Linked DNA regions of Homo sapiens: region 2 is linked to region 1. The links are contacts of gene promoters, found by promoter capture Hi-C in human tissues and cell types (Jung and others, 2019). All regions are on one chromosome and are shown on one strand. The core of a region is centred on a gene start or on the middle of the fragment in contact, and the rest is flanking DNA. Distances in the headings are between cores, read along the strand shown.

Region 1 (4,991 bases), core at 807-3,306:
AGCTAGTTAGAAATGCAGAATCTAGGCCTTGCCTCAGACCCACAAACTCAGCACCTACATTTTAACGAGAGTCCCAGGTGGTTCATGTGCACATTAATATCAGGAAGTGCAGATCCACTACACTGATTTTCAAACTTGGCTGCAGATTGGAACCCCTGGGGAACTTTAAAAACAGCTGGCTTCCTGGACCCTGTTCCAGAGATTCTGATTTTATCAGTTAGGTATGCCCTGGTGTTTTAAATCTCCGTCAGTACTTTTAACATGCAGCAGGATTTGAAAATCATGAATATATAATTAGTAAGTGACGAACATTTTGGCAATAAATAATAAATTTAAATTTGCGTAAAGCTTTGCATCAATTTTACATCTAGTCTTTTATTTTACAAAAACACTTGTGTAACATCATGAAGATATTGGAAAGGGATTGTTCACTGCAATACTGTTTGTAACAGCTGAAAATGAGAAACTGAAGAATCTAGTCATAGGGAGAAAGTTTAAATACAGCATAATGCATTTGTAGTCTGCAATGCTTTGCCACCTGCCTGACAGATTCCTGCCCCATATGTGTTTTCTGTACGTTGCCCTTGCTCATAGAACCCATTGATCTTTGCAGCCTAGGAAGAATGCTCACCTCTCTGCCTCACCAGGAACTTTCTGGACACTGATTTGGGATTTTCACAGAAAAGCAGAAGCTTTGAGAGCTTAACAGGTGCGTGCCCCCCTCCTCCCACTAAGGGCCAGGCCTGGGCATCAGAGTGGGCCACGTGACCCTTACCCTGGCAGGACAGGGCAGGGGGTTACTGTTGGCCCAAGCCAAGGGAGTTCAGAGGCCAGGCATTCAGGAAGCCAGAGTCATTGGCACAGGTGGGCAGAAGATGCCAGAGGGGCCCTGTATTAGTCAGGGTTCTTTTAAAGGGACAGAACTAATAGGATATATATGGTTGTGTATATATATAAAGTTAATACTTAATAAACTCCCCTTTATATATATATAAAATATATATATAAATTATATATATATTAATTATATATATAATATATATATAAATTATATATATATTAATTATATATATAATATATATATAAATTATATATATATTAATTATATATAATATATATATAAATTATATATATATTAATTATATATAATATATATATAAATTATATATATATTAATTATATATATAATATATATATAAATTATATATATATTAATTATATATATATAAAATATATATAATTTATATATATAAAATATATATAATTTATATATATAAATTATATATAAAATATATATAATTTATATATATAAATTATATATAAAATATATATAATTTATATATAAAAATTATATATAAATTATATATATAAAATATATATATAAATTGTATATATATAAAATATACATATAAATTATATATATATAAAATATACATAAATTATATATATAAATAATATGTATATAAAAGGGAGTTTATTAAGTATTAACTTACATGATCACAAGGGCCCACAACAGGCTGTCTGCCAAACTGAGGAGCAAGGGGAGCCAGTCTGAGAGTCCCAAAACTGAAGAACTTGGAGTCTGATGTTCGAGGGCAGGAGGCATCTAGCATGGGAGACAGATGTAGACTAGGAGGCTAGGACCATCTCTCCTTTTCACGTTTTTCTGCCTGCTTTATATTCGCTGGCAGCTGATTAGATTGTGCCCACCAGATTAAAGGTGGATCTGCCTTCCCCAGCCCACTGACTCAAATGTTAATCTCTTTTGGAAACACCCTCACAGACACACCCAGGATCAATACTTGGTGTCCTTCGATCAAATCAAGTTGACACTCAGTATTAACCATTGCAGGCCCCTGACTCTGAGGGCACAGCAGGAGGCATTTGCTTGCTCTCTGTGCCCCTGTGAGAGCTGTTTAGACCAAAGGCCGGAGGCTGGCAAGTGGGAGATGTCCTCACTGGGACAAGACACAGGTGCTGAATTACATCACAAAGCGTAACCTCCCTGCAGGGCGTGGACTCAGAGGGGCAAGAGAGACCGCAGACCAGGACCCACAGAGACCCTTGACTGGGCCACAGGCATGAACTAAGAGTGCTGAAGACCTAGGAGAACCACTGGTCAGGTCAGCTCCCAGCTCCACAGGGAGTAAGAAGGAGCTGCAGGCACAGCAGGCTGAAAGTCCACCAAGGGCTGAGGCCACAAGGCCTCTGGGGCAGCCACAGTTTTCATGATCACATCATACAGGACTGAGAAGCAGATAACAAGAGTGACGCTCACAGGGGTAGGCATAGACACACTGGGGCCGAAGGGGAGAGGAACTCTCCCTAGACACACAGATTGCTCTCAGGGTAAGGAGGGGAGGCTGGTAGAGAGACTCCTTAACTGGCATTCCTGGGTGGGTTTCCATGGAGAAAGAGAGGACAAACCCCAAAGAGTGACCCTAATGGCCTGTCTTGAATCCAGCTGGGCTGACGCTAACAGGAGGCAGTGTGTGGCTCGAAGATTCTTGAACCCACAGCAGCAGCTGCGGCCACCCCATCCTGCCCACAGCTCCAGCCCTGAGACGACGAGGAGGAGAGTCGACTTTGCCTCTTGCCCAAGGGACCATGCCCAGGTGCCGGTGGCTCTCCCTGATCCTCCTCACCATTCCCCTGGCCCTGGTGGCCAGGAAAGACCCAAAAAAGAATGAGACAGGGGTGCTGAGGAAATTAAAACCCGTCAATGCCTCAAATGCCAACGTGAAGCAGTGTCTGTGGTTTGCCATGCAAGAATACAACAAAGAGAGCGAGGACAAGTATGTCTTCCTGGTGGTCAAGACACTGCAAGCCCAGCTTCAGGTAAAGGTGTCTTTCCATATAGGTGGACATTTGCATATGGTGGCACAGTTGAAGCCAGACTGAAAGAGTGGGCATATAAGAAAAATATCACTATGCAAAAATCCTAAATATGTGAATGCTTAAGAGCCTAGACACTTCCACAGCATCAATAAGGCAGTGAACACACAGAGCACTTTCTACAAACGCTTGCGCTTTTGTTCTAAGTCCTTCGCATAGATTAACTCATTTAAACCCCAAACTGCAAATCAAATGTTCATGTATTTGCTAAGGTTGGGAGACAGATAGAATGCTAGCCATGAGAAAAGATCTGATAAAGGTGAGTCCAGGTGAACCTGGACCCAACTAGCAGACACTCCTTCATCTCCTGCTGTAATCCTTTAATGCCAGATGAAAACAGATTTAAATGGACATCACAAGTAGCCTTGATTGCATTCAGTCACTAATGAGTTCAACAAATACTAATGTCCTGCTATAAACCTACTGCTGTTCTACTCACTAAAGACTCAGCAGAGAACAAGACAGGCAAACTCATGCCTGCATGGGTCCTCATGGACTGTGTGCTGAGCTGGTGGGAGGGGCTTTGGGTGGGGAAACCCCAGAGGATGGGAGGTTTCACAGGAATCTGAGGGACTGGGGCCTAATGTGGCTGAGGGGGCTGTCCCCTGGTCAGGCCTGTGTGAACCTGAGCATCTCAGGCCCAGGAGAGCTGATGGTTCTGAAGAGCCCACCTTTCACCTCTCAGTCCTCACTGAGCATGCAGCATGCCCTGGGCTTGGGGACAGGAAATGGAATGAGAAGGCCTTGCTTTCAAGGAGGTGACAAACTGGAGAGGAGTCTTTACTCAAGTGTCCAGCTCCAGGAGCCTATGGAGTCCTGACTGATCTTGTTGTACACAGGGCTCCAGGCAGTGGGCATCTTAGCCTTCCGCTAAAGCTCTGTCTGGGGGTGAGGGAGGAAGGAAAGAGGAAAGGACGAGAGTAAGAGTAATTTTTTTTTTTTGTCAAAACTTTAAAAAAGTACAACTCTTTTGAATAAAATTGCATAATTGCTAACCAACAGGTCACAAATCTTCTGGAATACCTTATTGATGTAGAAATTGCCCGCAGCGATTGCAGAAAGCCTTTAAGCACTAATGAAATCTGCGCCATTCAAGAAAACTCCAAGCTGAAAAGGGTAGGTGATGAACCACTCATCTGTGACGGCCTAGGCAGCTCTGAACCCAAGAGAGAAAGCTGAGGCACGCAGACCTTCTCTTTGAGGTCTGGGTGGCTCCCAGTGTTTAGCCCCAGATAGCCAACCCTGTGGCCTTTATAGCAGAAGATCCAGGGCCACGGAACGTGGTGGAACCCTCTGAGCTTCTTTCTCATCCTTCATCCTGCAGAAAGGATGTTGTCAAGACCACTCTTATCTCAAGGGCTCCATTGACTTCTGGCCTTTTGATGCAGGCACACTGGACAACACATAATCACCAAAAGCCTGTCCTCTTGGGTCCAGACAAGCCACCCACTATTGCTGGGCCCATGGTCACTCATCCCCATACAGACACAAAAGGAACTTCATTCATTCACTCATCCACTCATAGAAAATTACTGAGCACCAGGTGCTACGTGCTTTGCACCAGGTCTATTCTGGGTGCTGGAGATTAAGCAATGACTAAGCCAGAGGGTGGCCCCACCCTCCTGGGTTTACAGTTGATTTTTGCTGGGGTCAGTCCAGGTTTCCAGGAAGGTTGGGGCAAACCCACAGACTCCCAACAAAAGGAGGACTTGGCCCAGGGGCTTTTGGCTTCAAGCCTGTATTTTTTATCTCAGAGCAGCTCATAGGCCAGTACTTGGTCCCAGACAGATGAAGGCCTGAGCATTCTGCAGGTTTGCCCAACAGGTGCATCACTGTCCCTGTCTTTACATTGGTGGTTCTCCAATGTGAGCAGGCATCACAATCACTTGGAGGTATTGACAAACCCTGATGACCGGGTTCCACCGGCAGAGTTTCCAATTCAGGAAATGGGATCTAAGAATTTGCATTCTTAATGAGTTCCTGAGTGGTGCTACTGCTGCTGCTGCTGCTGGCCTTAGGATCATTTTGAGAACCACTGCTTTATGCACTGCCATGGCACAGGAAATTGCAGGTACATTTATGAACTGCCCTGCCAT
Region 2 (4,991 bases), core at 1,693-4,192, 700 kb before region 1:
TATATACATGCAATAAAATGCCCTATTCTTTGGTGTTTGACTTGATGAGTTTTGTCAGTTTTATATACCTGTGTATAATCACCACTCTGTATGAGACACAGAACATTATATCATCCAAGACGGTTTCCTGTGCCTCTGCCCAGTCAAGCATCCACTGTCCCAACCCAAGGCAACCATGGTCTGACTTCAAGCACCAAAAGATTATGTTTTTCATTTCTACAACTTCATGTGAATGGATTCATACAGTATGTGCTAAGCTTCTTTCACTCAATGTGTCTCTAATATTTATGTATGTTGTATGCATCAGTAGTTATTTTTTATGGTTGAGTAGGAGTTCATGAGTATATTCACTTGAGAGATGTTTGGATGGCTTGTCCTTTGAGTTGGTTACAAACAAGTCTACCATGAGAATTTTGGTGCAAGAGTTCTTGCAGATATATGCTTTTGTTTCTCTTGGGTAAATGTCTAATAGTGGAATTACTGGGTTGATGTGGACTCAACTGTAGAAGAAACCAAATGAGTTGCTTTTGAAAATTATCATTTCTGGTAGACTCATAGCCTCTCATAGCTGAACGAAAATTTTGCTCCTTGGCCATTTGGTCCAACCTCGTCATTTAAGATAAGGACAACTGAGATGCCAAGGAGTCATCACTCTTTCATGGCTGTAGATCTAATAAGTAGCTGAGGAAGAGCTGGACCCAGCCTTTCTGACCTCATACTTCCTTACCAAGGAGCATTAGAAAACCCTACTTATTCCTGCTTGTGAGGTAAGAGTTATTTCTAAATGCAAATATTTGTTTTCTTGCTTTTATTCACATAGTGAAGAAAATTGAATCCATGGTGACCTTATTGAATCCACACAGAACCTTATTATACATTGATTCATAAGGTGTTATTGTATCATAGCTATAGACAGCTGTGGAGATTAGGGTAAGTCTACACTGTCTTGAGAACATGTCTTAGAATTTAAGTTTTCTCCAAATACGTAGTATTGATTCGGCTTTACCTTTTGCTAAGAAAATGAATGTTGGTAACTTCTCACATAGTAATAATAATTCCATTTCCAAGAACATCTCCTAAGAACATAAATATAGATGTGCAGGAGATATATGCGAGGGTCAGAAATGCTGAGGAGCAGGGCATGACTCACTGCACTAGCTCATGCCGACAGGCCAAGAAGGTGACAACAGGGCCCTGGCTGTGGATTTAGTAGCATGGATGTCATCAGCAAAAGACTAATTTGTCTCCAGTGTCTAAAACAGTGCCTGGAGCTCCAGAAGTAGGACATGATTGATTGAGTGGCAGGGGCATCTCAAGTTGACTCGAATATCCTTTGTTTGAGCATACTCAAGAGAAAATGGGAAGATAAAGTGAGATTTCTTTTAAAGGACAGCAAGGAAATGAGGTGGCACTTGTAGGGGAATATAGGGCTAAGACAGGGTTTTCTCAAGATAAGAGAAATCACCAGATGTTTGCATGATGTTGGGAGTGATCCAGTAGAAAGAAAAAAGTAAAAATATTCTACCAATAACCATAACAAATGACCAAACATATTGTTGCTAAGGCAATGATATCTTGACTGATGCAGGGAAAAAAGTAACCTCAACAGGTCAAGTCCCAAGTGTGAGCCTGTCACCAGCATGCAGTGGGAAGTACAGTTTCTGGAACTCTGAGCCTAATTCTGCCTCCAAGTTGTTGTTGGTGGTGGATGAGTCATTTTGCATTGTCATCTCCCTTTCCTTACCTGTGCAAAGAAGGGTTGAAATCAGACTCCCCCACTCGCACACCTCATGATAACTTCCTGAGGGCTGCCACAGGCCGTCAGCTTCTCTCTCTTTGTGTGCAAGCCAGACCCTTAGTAATGCAAGTCCCTCATCCTACTCTAACTGCATGAGCCAAGCTCAGATCCCCTGCAGGAAAAGAATTCAAGGCCTTCTTTGCTCAGACAGGAGACAGATTCTTGGAAGTAGTAACGTCTTACCCAACATCTTGAGGAAGTTTTCATAAAAGCCTGGGATCAACATCATATGAAACATAGCCATCAAGTTTTGAGCCCTAAAGAGAATTCAGAATAGAGTGAGGTCAAGTGAATGTCTAACTGCTGAGTGAAGGATCATGGGAGATTTCAAAGGGCTCTTGTTTTGGAGTTTTCAGGACTTTCCCCAAGAAATTTTCATGGTTGATGTGTGCTCCAGTAAGAACAGGAGAATATGAAATCCGGGGATGAGGGACAGGGGTGGGGAGTCTAAGAGGCTAATTATCCTCTGTGTAGAATGAAACCCCATGAAAAAGGAGCACTCCTGTTACACATTTTATTGTTAGTTAGCATTCTATATGTTACTAAATAATTTTGCTTTACTACTTTATTTATAGCTACATAATCTTGAACAAGTCACTTATCCTCTTTGAGAATAATTTTACCTCTAAAATGGGCATACTATGACTATTTTGCAGGATTGTAGAGTAAATGAAAATTTGAGTCTTTCAATAAACATTTATCATCCTAAGTGCTGTTTTTATTCATACAAAATGGAAATTATTAGTTGTAGTGAAACCATAAGTATTGGCTGAGAACCAGGCACAAAAGGAACCAAATGGAAGCCCCGCATTCAGGTTGAATCTAGGAAGCAATGCCGGCTGCAGGTGCAGAATTCATCAGCAGAACATGGCTCTCAGGACATCTTTGTAAAGGTCTCTTGTCTTCTGGTGTGAGGCAGGCCATGTGTTCCTCCAGGCATTAAGGTCAGAATCACTGATAACAGTTTGGATGTCTCCATCAAACCTTATTTTGAATTGTAATCCCCAGTGTTGGAGGTGGGGTCTGGTGGGAGCTAATTGGATCATGGGGGCAGATTTCTCACGGATGGTTTAACACCATCCTCTTGGTGCTGTCCTTGTGGTAGTGAGTGAGTTCTTGTGACGTCTGTTTGTTTAAAAGTGTATGGCACCTCCCCACTGGCTCTCTTGCTCCTGCTCTCACCATGTGATACATATGCTTCCACTTTGCCTTCACCATGATTGTAAGTTTCCTAAGGCCTCACCAGAAGCCAAGCAGATACTGGCACCATGCTTTCTGTACAGCCTGCCGAACGGTGTGCCAATTAAATCTCTTTTCTTTATAAATTACCAGTTTCGGATATTTCTTTACAGCAACGCAAGAACAGCCTAACACAATCACCACGGGAAGACCTCCTCTCCCTGATGGTGGCTGATGAGGAGACTCACTTCCTGGAGTAGTCCAGTTACCCTCCCACAGCTATCACTTGAGGAGGGAAACACATTTTCTCAGGACTCCCTTAATCCCCTGTGTCAATCCAACTCTCTGGCACTTTTGCCTAGACTTTGGGTCAAGTAGAAAAAAGTGAGCAGCTTTTCTGATGGTGTAACTGATATTTCTTTATCCTAGGAATGTATTTTGGTGCAAAGCTTATAGTGCAGAAGTCTAAGACCCAAAAATCAGTTAAAAAACAGTTAACACATATTTTAAAGGTGCTTTACAATGACTTTGCAAATATGTATTTTAAATATACAACTTCTTCCTAAGTTCCATTATTTGTACATTAAAACTGCTCCAGGAATTGGTCAACTTCAAGTCCAGCCAACTCTGACATTTAATTTCTAGAGAAACTGGGCATTTCTAACAAAAATCTAAGAGCTTAGATAAATAGTAGTAGGTAATTTTGAGATCCCTGCTTTGTGAATGGGGGCTAAGAGGCAGAACTAATTTCTGCTGCTTTCTCTGAGCTCTCTTCTTTCACATATTTTTTCAGTATTCAGGAATTTCCTAAATGGCTTTAAGGATAATGTGATCCTTTTCTAGATGAGAAAGAAGAACAGGGGCTCACTCTGTGTAATCTCTTTCCTGCTTCTTAGAGAGGGCACTGGGGACATTTTCATTCCTTCATAGTTCCCCACCCTTTCCAAGAGTGCATACTCTTTTGCTTGACAACCTGCCAGGTGACTTGGCTTAAAAATAGGTTATCTCATTCATCAACTTAACAAATATTTGCTGGGCATATCCTATGAGCTGGGAACCGTGCTAGAACAAAGAATAAAATGGAGCCTCTGCCTTTATACAGCATATCACATGGTCAAGGCAGACTGCAATTATGACACAATGTGTCATGTTAAGGGTGAGTGTGGGGACTGAGGAAAATTGGAGGTTTTTCCAAACCTCAGTCCTGAAGAATTAAAGGAGGCATCCTAGAGAGAGTGATGTGGAACTTGAGACCTAAGGGACAAGTGGGAGTTAGCAAGGGAATAACAGTGAGAGTTATTAATGTATAGATGTTTTTTAAAGTGCTGAGGCTGAATGACATCACCTGGAGAGTGAGCATAGTTAGAAAAGAGAAGCTGATTATGGAGGGAAAAGGGAAAACCAACAGAACAACTGAAAAGGGGAAGGAAAAGACTAGAAGCCAAGGGTCAGAAGTGCAGTGGGGAAGAGGAGTCGGGGGGACACTGTGTGCAAAGGCATCAGGTGAAAGAACAGCCAAGTGCATGCTGGCAACTGAAAGGAGTCTGTGGTGTGGCTGCTGTGGCATCTCATTAAAGAACATCCAGGCAGGAAGCTGGGAAGGTGGTAGGGACAAGTCTTAGGAGCCCCAGACACCAGATTAGGGAAACTGGACTTTATCCTAAGACAATAATAGAAAGCCACAAAGAGGAATATAGAAGGGTGGGGTCACCTTAATTCAGGCAAAAGTTGGGAGTAGCTTCACCAAGGGGTGGTGGTAGCAGAAATTATGATGAAGGAAAGTGACCAATTCAAGAAACAGAAAATAGAATTGCCGGAGTTTGGAGATGAATTGATTGGATTGAGGTCTTGAGTACTGGGGAACATTCATATAGAGGTGAGCAGTTTTAAGGCCCAAGATACTGAGCTATGATGACCATTTTGAGTTGAAGGTAGCTGTGGTCACAAACACTGCCTCAGTGGGTGAGAAAAGGGGTTGTGCTTCTTATTTGCACTCCCAAGTAAGCATTCATAG

The links. Contacts are between HindIII fragments. The study calls those that stand out against the background at their distance.
Region 2: a fragment that was not itself captured here is called in contact with the fragment with the promoter of CST8 in region 1 in 2 of the 25 tissues and cell types used here (small bowel and spleen).

The regions. Positions count from the first base shown.
Region 1 is chr20:23,489,061-23,494,051 of GRCh38, forward strand. CST8 (cystatin 8) reads left to right here and starts at 2,057. Exons shown (of 4, transcript NM_005492.4): 1 at 2,057-2,282; 2 at 2,465-2,838; 3 at 3,898-4,011. The coding sequence starts at 2,608. RefSeq lists an enhancer at 1,521-2,021. The HindIII fragment of the contact is 12,460 bases long and covers 521-4,991 here.
Region 2 is chr20:22,790,385-22,795,375 of GRCh38, forward strand. No RefSeq gene overlaps it. Among named protein-coding and RNA genes, the nearest start is that of LINC01747, 110 kb to the left of the region's middle. The HindIII fragment of the contact is 6,670 bases long and covers 1-4,991 here.